2 separate regions of the Homo sapiens genome follow, and region 1 is linked to region 2. The links are contacts of gene promoters, found by promoter capture Hi-C in blood cells and fetal thymus (Javierre and others, 2016). All regions are on one chromosome and are shown on one strand. The core of a region is centred on a gene start or on the middle of the fragment in contact, and the rest is flanking DNA. Distances in the headings are between cores, read along the strand shown. Region 1 has its middle 270 kb from the start of RFPL4B. Region 2 holds the start of HS3ST5 (heparan sulfate-glucosamine 3-sulfotransferase 5).

Region 1 (4,472 bases), core at 620-3,119, 1.7 Mb after region 2:
TCAATCACTATTGCTTTCATGTCATTCATTCTTTAAACATTTATTTATTGATTAGATATTATGTGACACCAGATACTCAAAGTACTAGTAATACAACACTCAACTCCAAGACAGTCAAAGTCTTTACTTTCTTGGTAGTTACATTCACGTTGATGAAGGTAGACAGTAAGCAAATAGCCAATATATCAAGAATACAATAAGAATATGAAAGTGCCAAGGTGAAAATATATTAAGGTGCTATGCCAGTGAAACACCAAGGGACTGCAGTTTAGTTAATCAAAAAGTTTTCACCGAAGTTTGAGTTGAGACCTGAATGGCAAGAAGGAGTCAAGAATGAGAAGGAAGCTCTGGGGAAACAGCTTTCCAGCTGAGGAAATAACTAATGCAAACACCCTAAGTTAGGATCCCGCTTGGCATGTTCATAGAAAAAGAATGTCTTTCTTTCCTCAATTCTCAAAATTTTAAGGTGTGGTATGCTTGTCTCTTTCATTTAAATATCTGTGGATGACGCTCGCCTGCCTGCCCGCTCCCTTGCTAGCTCGCGCTTTCGCTCACCCTCTCCTCAAGGATCCAGGGGGCTCTGACCAAAGCCTGCGGCAAGGAAGGGAGACAGAGGCGGCGGCTCAGGAGAAATGAGGCTGCAGTGGTGGTGGTAGGAAGATGTAGGGTGAGGACGAGCAGCAGAAGCAAACTATCGCTGAAGACCTGGTTGTGACCAAGTATAAGATGGGGGGCGACATTGCCCACCGGGTACTTAGGTCCTTGGTGGAAGCATCTAGCTCAGGTGTATTGGTACTGAGCCTGTGTGAGAAAAGTGATGCCGTGATTATGGAAGAAACAGGGAAAATCTTCAAGAAAGAAAAGGAAATGAAGAAAGGCATTGCTTTTCCCACCAGTATTTCAGTAAATAACTGTGTATGTCACTTCTCCCCTTTGGAGAGTGGCCAGGATTATATTCTCAAGGAAGGTGACTTGGTAAAAATTGACCTTGGGGTCTATGTGGATGGCTTCATCGCTAATGTAGCTCATACTTTTGTGGTTGATGTGGCTCAGGGGACCCAAGTAACAGGGAGGAAAGCAGATGTTATTAAGGCAGCTCACCTTTGTGCTGAAGCTGCCCTACGCCTGGTCAAACCTGGAAATCAGAACACACAAGTGACAGAAGCCTGGAACAAAGTTGCCCAGTAATTTAACTACAAGCCAATAGAAGGTATGCTGTCACACCAGTTGAAGCAGCATGTCATCGATGGAGAAAAAACCGTTATCCAGAATCCCACAGACCAGCAGAAGAAGGACCACGAAAAAGATGAATTTGAGGTATATGAAGTATACGCTGTGGATGTTCTCATCAGCTCAGGAGAGGGCAAGGCCAAGGATGCAGGACAGAGAACCCCTATTTACAAATGAGACACTCCTGAAGAGTATGGACTGAAAATGAAAACTTCACGTGCCTTCTTCAGTGGATGGAAAGGCGTTTTGATGTCATGCTGTTTACTTTAAGAGCATTTGAAGATGAGAAGAAGGCTCGGATAGGTGTGGTGGAGTGTGCCAAACATGAACTGCTGCAACCATTTAATGTTCTCCATGAGAAGGAGAGTGAATTTTTTGCCCAGTTTAAATTTACAGTTCTGCTCATGCCCAGTGGCCCCATGCGGATAACCAGTAGTCCCCTCAAGCCTGACCTCTACAAGTCTGAGATGGAGGTCCAGGATGCAGAGCTAAAGGCCCTGCTCGAGTTCTGCAAGTCGAAAAACCCAGAAAAAAAAAAGAAGGCCTCCAAGACTGCAGAAAATGCCACCAGTGGGGAAATATTAGAAGAAAATGAAGCTGGGGACTGAGGTGGGTCCCATCTCCCCAGCTTGCTGCTCCTGCCTCATCCCCTTCCCACTACACCCCAGACTCTGTGAAGTGCAGTTCTTCTTCTCCACCTAGGACATCCAGCAGAGTGGGGGTCTCCCTGCCTCCACCCCAGTTACCCAACCCACTCCTTTCCAACAACAACCGGCTCCAACTGACTCTGGTCTTGGGAGGCGAGGCTTCCTGGGCACGGAAGACTACTTTAGATGAAAAAAAGAAATTGAATAATAAAATCAGGGGTCAAAATTCATAGTCTTCAAGCCCCTCTTTCTAGCCTTTTCTACTACTCTCTGCTTGGTCAAGGTTTGTGACCCTACTACAGAACCAGGCTAAATTGGCCACCACCACTGAAAACTCAGCCAAATTTTTTTATACCATTCTGATGTTAGCATTTTTTCATCCGTTTGGGGCTTTTTCCTTTTTTCCATTCTCCCCAAGTATTTTATCTGGCTTCAAAATTAGGATTATTTTTCAGATTGTTTTTATTCAGTGTGGCCAATTCCTCATCTGATTCAGGCTGTCCAGCCAGGCCCCTCCCATTTTAGGAGCTGGAGCCTTCATTTATGAAGCGATTCTTATCTATGAAATGGATCTGAATTAGTCAATCTTTTTTCTTCCATTTTCACAAAGCTGTAAAGAAATAATCCATCTCAACCTCACCCTTTTCTCTGGAGTCAGTGGGGTCTTCCCTGCTCCATTCTACAGAAAACTGAGCTGGAAGCTCAACTGGTTTTGTTCACTGTTTGAAATATTGTGATCTCCTTCCCTTGAAAGAAAAACCAAGAACCAGAGGAGTAGACTGTCTGAAGATACAACTCCTAGCTTTCTGAAGCTATGGACTTGGATTAAATTTCTAGGGGTTTGTAGGGAAAGGTGACAAATTTCAGTACATCTGGCATGCTGTCCCAGGAAACTAGGGCTCCTACTAATTTATGAGGTTTTTAAGCACATTGAAAATGACATGACATTAAAATAAATTTGAATTTTCTCATAAAAATAAAAATAATAAATAAATAAATATCTGTGGATAATAATAGAAATAAAATAGAAATGGCCTTATTTATAAAATGAAATTTTACATGCTTTTATTTAATTTTTTTAAAAAAAGTTTCTGGCCGGGCACAGTGCCTCACACCTGTAATCCCAGCACTTTGGGAGGCCGAAGCGAGTGGATTGCGAGGTCAGGAGATCGAGAACAGCCTGGCTGGCGTGGTGAAACCCCGTCTCTGCTAAAAATACAAAAATTAGCTGGGAGTGTTGGTGTGTGCCTGTAATCCCAGCTACTTGGGAGGTTGAGGCAGGAGAATCGCTTGAAACAGGGAGTTGGAGTTTGCAGTGAGCCGAGATCGCGCCACTGCACTCCAGCCTGGCGACAGAGTGAGACCCCATCTCAAAAAAAAACACACACACACACACACACACACAAAAATGAGTTTCTTAGGAGAGATCGTCACAAAGGCTGAGGAACTAGACAAGTGGCCTCAAACCTTTTTTTTGCTGATACATAATGATCATATACCTTCCTGAGGTACATGCAATATTTTAACACATGCATACAATGTGTAGTGATCAAATTAGGGTAATTGGGATATACAATGCCTCATATGTTTGCCCTTGCTTTGTGTTGGGAAAATTCCAAATCTTTCTTTCAGCTATTTTGAAATGTACAATAAGTTATTGTAACAGTAGTTTCCCTCCTGGGCTATCGAACACTGGAACTCAACTCTTGATCTGTGTATTGCACTTGGGGATTTTATAATTAAAGCCCCATTGCTATGACACAGACAGCACCCAAGGGCTTGCTGATCACCTTTAAAACTCCAGTCCAAATTTAGGCAAAATTCCTTCCTGTGCTTTCCTTTCGTATAGTTGAGATAGGCCAGCATAACTAGAAGTGCTCCCAGAAGGTTGGTATTGCCACTAGACACCAAGCTGGCCTCTGAAACAGGCTGCCTTGGTCCAGATTGTTTTCTTCTTTGTTCCAAATCTGAGCTAAAGCTATCTCTTTCCTTGTCACCAACAAATTCAAAACATCCTTCCTTCAAAAAGTACCCACGTTTCCTGATTTGAAATTACCAGCAACATTAATGTAATTTAAGAGACAGACTTGATTCAGAGCTAATGGGCAGGACTGTGCTAAATGACACAGTAACTTGGTTCCACCCACTCTATCATGGCCATCGGATGTGACCTTCCCCACTCAAAAGCTTATTATAAAAGAGTTACTTTCTCAGCTTTCTCTGTTGATGGAGTATAAGTAGCCAAACACATTCAAGTTATCAAAATGCATATGAGTTCATCTTTTAGCCAATTAATTTACTTGTAAAGCTTTGGCCTATTAAATAATTTGTCCGAAATGATAAAAAGGAATATAAGGGTGAGGATGAACTGTATTTCCAAAAGGATATTCAAAACCATTACCTTCACTAGGGATAATTTTCCCAAACTAATTGAAATTTGAATAGAATTCGAGCTGAGCAAACAGGAACAAAGAAAAGTGGCAAATAATACGATTAAAAAATGGACAAAGTGCCTGTATAGATATTTATCAAAAGAAGAAATGGGAATGGCCAAGAAGTATATGAAACAGTGTTCAACATCACCAATTATTGGGG
Region 2 (4,832 bases), core at 1,088-3,587:
AAATCCAGGTCATCTGTAGAAGTTGAAAAGCAACACAAAAAAGCTCATGCACCTTCATCTAATCCTCCAACCCTGGGCAAGGTAAAAGCTCTTTCCAGAGCATTGCATCCCAGTTTTTGGAACCGTACCTGCTCCCAACCCCAGGTGTGACCCTGTAGCAGGTAGGCAAAATTACTGTGACAATCTCACAATCCATCAGCTACAGAGCAAAGGATCCTCTGAGGAGAAGTTAGGATTGCTGAGAAAGCACAGGCTGCTGAGCATTCCTCTCCTGCCAGACATAAACCTGATGCAAGACAGAATTATGAGAAACCAGATTCAGCTCACCCATCCTCCTTCTCAGTCATCTTCCAGGCACAAAAGAAAGACTGAATACCAATCAAAAGATAATATAAATAAACCTTTTAAATAAAGTTTACTAATTGAAAGGACTAATAGATGGAGTGATGCATTCTTCAAAATCTATTGTCATGCTTTTGTGGACTTTATTGCTTATCAGCATTTTTCCCCTCAAGAAAAAAAAACAGAACAGCAACATTTGTTCAGAAAAAAAACAAACCATGTTTCTTCCTTTCTTATTACTTTTATTGTTTGAGGTTTCTTTTAGACTATAATGTGGCATTGTGATTTTAAGATGGGAAAAAAAAATCTCTTGTCTTTCAAACATAGGAATGTGATTGTATGCTATTGTTGCCAACAATGAGCTAAAGAGGTTAATGGATCACATATCTGGCAAACAGCCATCTTTCCTCCTGCTCAATATATTACACAGTATACATTTTATTGTTGCTGCTGAGCATATGATTTTGTCTGAGTAGTTGGTAAATAAGTTTAGACTTAACTGGTCTCTTTCTAAAACTCAACAGCTTTGTCATTCAGGCTATATCCTGAGATTTAAAAAGTGCAGTTTCGGTTCTTAGCTCATGACCTTTTGAGGTGATGGTAAGAGTGGTGGGAGGAAGGAGGTGGGGCGGGCTGTTGAATGAGAATCTAGAAATATTGTGCCTTGTAAATTGCATCCGACCTTTCATTTTCAGATTGCCTAAATTAACAGAGTGAAATTACCATAATAAAAAGGAATGGGTACTGGAGAAAGTACAGCAATTCTTTCTAGTGTTGTTTCCCAGATTCCTTCCAAAATACCTCTAATTAAATGGACCAACTCTCTCCACTGACCTCAGGTTGACACAAATTTGCATTCTGCGACTGTCATTTGAAAACAGACAAGCCGTCATAAGCAATAATGCTGTGATTTCTTGCCTAAAGGACTTTTCTGTGTACTGCATTTGTACTATGAAATGTAAGCAAGAGACTTAATGCCTCTACAGATAAAAAGGGAGGAAAGATTTTCATTTTTAGGGAACCCCAGAGGGAAAAAGTTTATCAATGAGAAATACAATGTTCTGGATAATTTTGGTTGGGTAGGAATGTATGTTGAGGGAGGGGACTAGAGTTGGGAGAGAGGAAGCAACACATCAGTCTCCTTGGAGCAGTAGAGTCCTTTCAGTCCGGTAAAGAGCACAGTAAGTAGCAGGTAGAATCAGCTCCTGGCCTGTTGTTTTGCTGGGGGCAAAGGGTTGGAGGAACACAGACTAAATTGGGAAGGCTAGTGTGCCTCTCGGCTTTTGGACTTGGGACCTGAAAGAAGGCTGAGTCCTGAGCTCCGCTTCCCAGCTAGGCGGTGATCGCCCCCTGTGACTCCGGATGCACACAGCAGCCCCAAGCACGCCGCGGCCGCCGCCCGACCCTTCACCGCCTCCGGCTCTCCCGCCTGGCACTCTGGAGCCACACACACCAGCTTCCTGGACACCTGTGTGCCCCAAGCTCTGGGTCTAGGCATCCCCCTCACCCCAGAGAGACCGGTCTCAGCGCCTCAGCAATTGGGTCCCTCCGACCTCTGTGTCCCCGAGTTCTGCCACCCTGGTCACCTCCGCAGGTTCCCCAAGCTGCGACCTCAGTCCAACTGGGAGCCCTGCGCGCCCACCCGGCAGCCCCACTGCGCTGCTCGCCCGCGGTTCCAGCGCCTGGGTGGGACGCGCAGTGGCTCAGCTGCGGGACCTCCGCCTCCGGGTAAATCCTCCTCCTCCCCTTTCTCCGCCTAAGGCCCTGCCCTCCCCCTGCAGCAAGCCGCTCCGGTGCGTGCGCCCGTCTCTCCGCCGAAGACACCTGCGCTTCCTTCCCCACCCTCCTCCTCCTCCCTTTCGCTGCGGTTTCTCCGCTGCCTTTGGGAGCTCGGGAGCGGCAGCTGGAGGAGGAGCACGGGGAGGAGGGGAAGGCGAGGAGGAGTAGGGGCGGGGTGGGTGGGGAGAGAGCCGGGAGGGTGTGGACTGGCAGCCACTCTGCAGCTGGTCGCCAGGGACCCGGTCCCTCCTGCGCGCCCAAGTGATGGAGGGGAAGAGATTCGCTTAGACACACACACGCGCACACAGCTGGGCACGTCTCCGGGAGGCAGCTGCCGGCTCGGGCGCTCTGGGGGCCGGGCGGCGGCCGTGACAGCGCCAGCCGCGGGGAGCGGGGCGCCCGCACAGCTTGGCACCGGAGGCTCGAGGACGCAGGAAGGGAAGATCCCAGTCACACTGAGTGTTGCTCTTTTGGGCGGATTGGGAGGGAGCGGGCTGCCCGAGGAGCTGTCACCGAGGACGCCCGAAGTCTCGCCCTCTGCGCGCAGGGTCCGGGGCTGCGCCGGTGCCCTCGTGGGGCAAGGAGGATGCGCACCTCCCCCCGCAGAGCGGCTGCGGTCTCCGGCACTGCGCGGACTCCGGCTCCTGCGGCCGCCCGTGCCGTGCCCGCGCCACGGGAGCGCGCCCTGCCGCACCTGGTTCCAGCCTCTCGGGGAAGTGCAGGAAACGCGCCCTAAACTCCACTACTTCTCGCCCGCCTGCCCCCCCGCCCGGCTCCCCGCCTCAGACCTCGCCGCCGCCGCCGCCGCCGCCGCCGCCTGCGTGTGGGGCCCGCTCGCGTCTTACTCACACGCGCCACGCACAGCCCTGTTGGTTTGCTCTCATTCACGCCGACTCGCTCTCCGCCGAGCCTAGCCCGGGCATCCGAAACTACTGGACCAACTGCCGTCCGGACCGCAGCAGCGGCCGGGTGACCCCCACGCGACCCGCCGCCGACCCCCGCGCCCTGAGGCTCCCGCCCGCGCCGCCACCGCCGGGGACCACGGTGAGCAAGGCGCGCTGCCCGCCTCGCGCGGGGGAGGGGCTTTGAGACCTCTAGATTTGGGGGGAAATGAGAAGGGGCAAATCGCCAAAGGGAAGCATCCGGGTGATGCCAGCAAAAAAGCACTTTGTGGGGTTCGGTTCTCCTGGGCGCTGCCTGGGGAAGACTTTTGAGAGGTTTGCTTAGGACCAGAGGTTAAACTAGTGCGAGATGAGAAACGGCGGGGGCAATTCCTGGGGTAAAATTAGACAGAAGGTGTCAGTCAGCCTGCCTGTCTGTTTCTCTCTCAGTCTCTCCCAGAGCGCTGGGTAGCGCTCTCTTTGAGGGAGAAAGGGAACACGCGTTTACTGCGCTCGCCAGAGTTTAGGGGTTCGCGTTCGGTCACTTCTGGGGTGGCTGTGGAGCTGTTTGGAGCGCGAGGGCAGCTTTGGGACAGTGGGGGCCTGCGAGGCCCCAGCAGAGGACAGGCAGAGGGCAGGCAAAGAACAGGCAAAGGCTAAGTTAACATGTGGGTGGGGTTTTCTCTTCCCAGCTGGCCCCCCCCACACCCCTCACAGCCCCACTTTATGCATCTCTTCCCACCCAACACACACGCGCGCGCGCGCGCGGGATGGATGCAGTCGAAGGGTGGTCATACTGTTACTACAAACAAGTCTGAGAGGTCGCTGTCGCTACTCACTGGAGCGCTGAGACTCCTGCTCCTGTTACTTGGGCGACCACCTTGGTTTAGGGCAACCTGCAAGGAGCGTCCAGCTTAAGGTGGATGTCTTTACCTGGAGGTTCCAAGCGCCCAGCAAACAAACAACTCCGGAGTCACTTCACCTTGGTGGGTTTCCTCTACTCTTCCGCTTCCCTACTTCAGTGCTTCAGGGCACCCACCCAAGGGAGCTGATGCTCACATTCGTGGTCTACCCTGTCTTCACCCGGTGGGACTCACTCTCTCTCTCTCTCTCTCTCTCTCTCTCTCTCTCTCTCCCCCTCTCTCCCTATTCCCTCTCCCTCTCCCTCTCCCTCTCCCTCTCCCTCCCTCCCTCCCCTCTCTCCCCCTCTCCTCTCTGTCTCCGAATACGAATACCAGTTTCTTCTTAGAAAACACTGGGGAGAGATTTAATATTTGCAAAGTGCTTTATGTCATATTACTTCGTGGATACATTTAATAGCACTGTAACTCTTCTCTGATTTATGTAAACTTGGTCTGATAAATAGCATGCAGGGTCGGGTTGGGTGGGGGCGAAAGTGGGTGGGTGGGCCTTCTTTCTGTGCTAATGCTCCTTTCTAAACTGATTTGCTAGAAGTAATAAACAGCTGGTGCTTCTCAAAGGTTTTACTTAGTAGTTTCTACATATTTCAGAGCTTTAGACAAATTACACATTATAATTTATTTCAAATATATTAAGGTCTTTTCAAGAAAAAGTTGAAGATAATAAAAGGGGATTACAAATATGAATATCAAAAATGATTATTTTTTAAAAAAGGTTTTATTGCTATCAATTATGTTGCAATAGATTTTTGTTGTTGTCATTGTTACCTTGGGGTTTCCTCCTAGTGAAGTTTTTAAAGAAATGAAAACAATACTACTTACCTTCCTCTCTCTGTTTGGTCATTGCTCAAAGTAACTGCATGAGCATCAGGGCAGGCTTCTTAACTTCAGGAATATGAAGTTATTCACC

What was found. The method cuts DNA at HindIII sites, captures the fragments that hold promoters and counts their contacts. A CHiCAGO score of 5 or more calls a contact.
Region 1: a fragment that was not itself captured here is called in contact with the fragment with the promoter of HS3ST5 in region 2 in 1 of 17 cell types (M2 macrophages); the score reaches 6.8 in M2 macrophages.

What each region holds. Positions count from the first base shown.
Region 1 is chr6:112,614,069-112,618,540 of GRCh38, reverse strand. It overlaps the pseudogene PA2G4P5. Among named protein-coding and RNA genes, the nearest start is that of RFPL4B, 270 kb to the right of the region's middle. The HindIII fragment of the contact is 4,394 bases long and covers 1-4,066 here.
Region 2 is chr6:114,340,528-114,345,359 of GRCh38, reverse strand. It overlaps HS3ST5 (heparan sulfate-glucosamine 3-sulfotransferase 5), which reads left to right and starts at 2,337. Exons shown (of 5, transcript NM_153612.4): 1 at 2,337-3,165. It overlaps LOC107986638 (a long non-coding RNA gene), which reads right to left and starts at 3,035. Exons shown (of 8, transcript XR_002956366.2): 1 at 2,971-3,035. It overlaps HDAC2-AS2 (HDAC2 and HS3ST5 antisense RNA 2), which reads right to left. Exons shown (of 10, transcript NR_125845.1): 10 at 4,631-4,832. The HindIII fragment of the contact is 8,063 bases long and covers 1-4,832 here.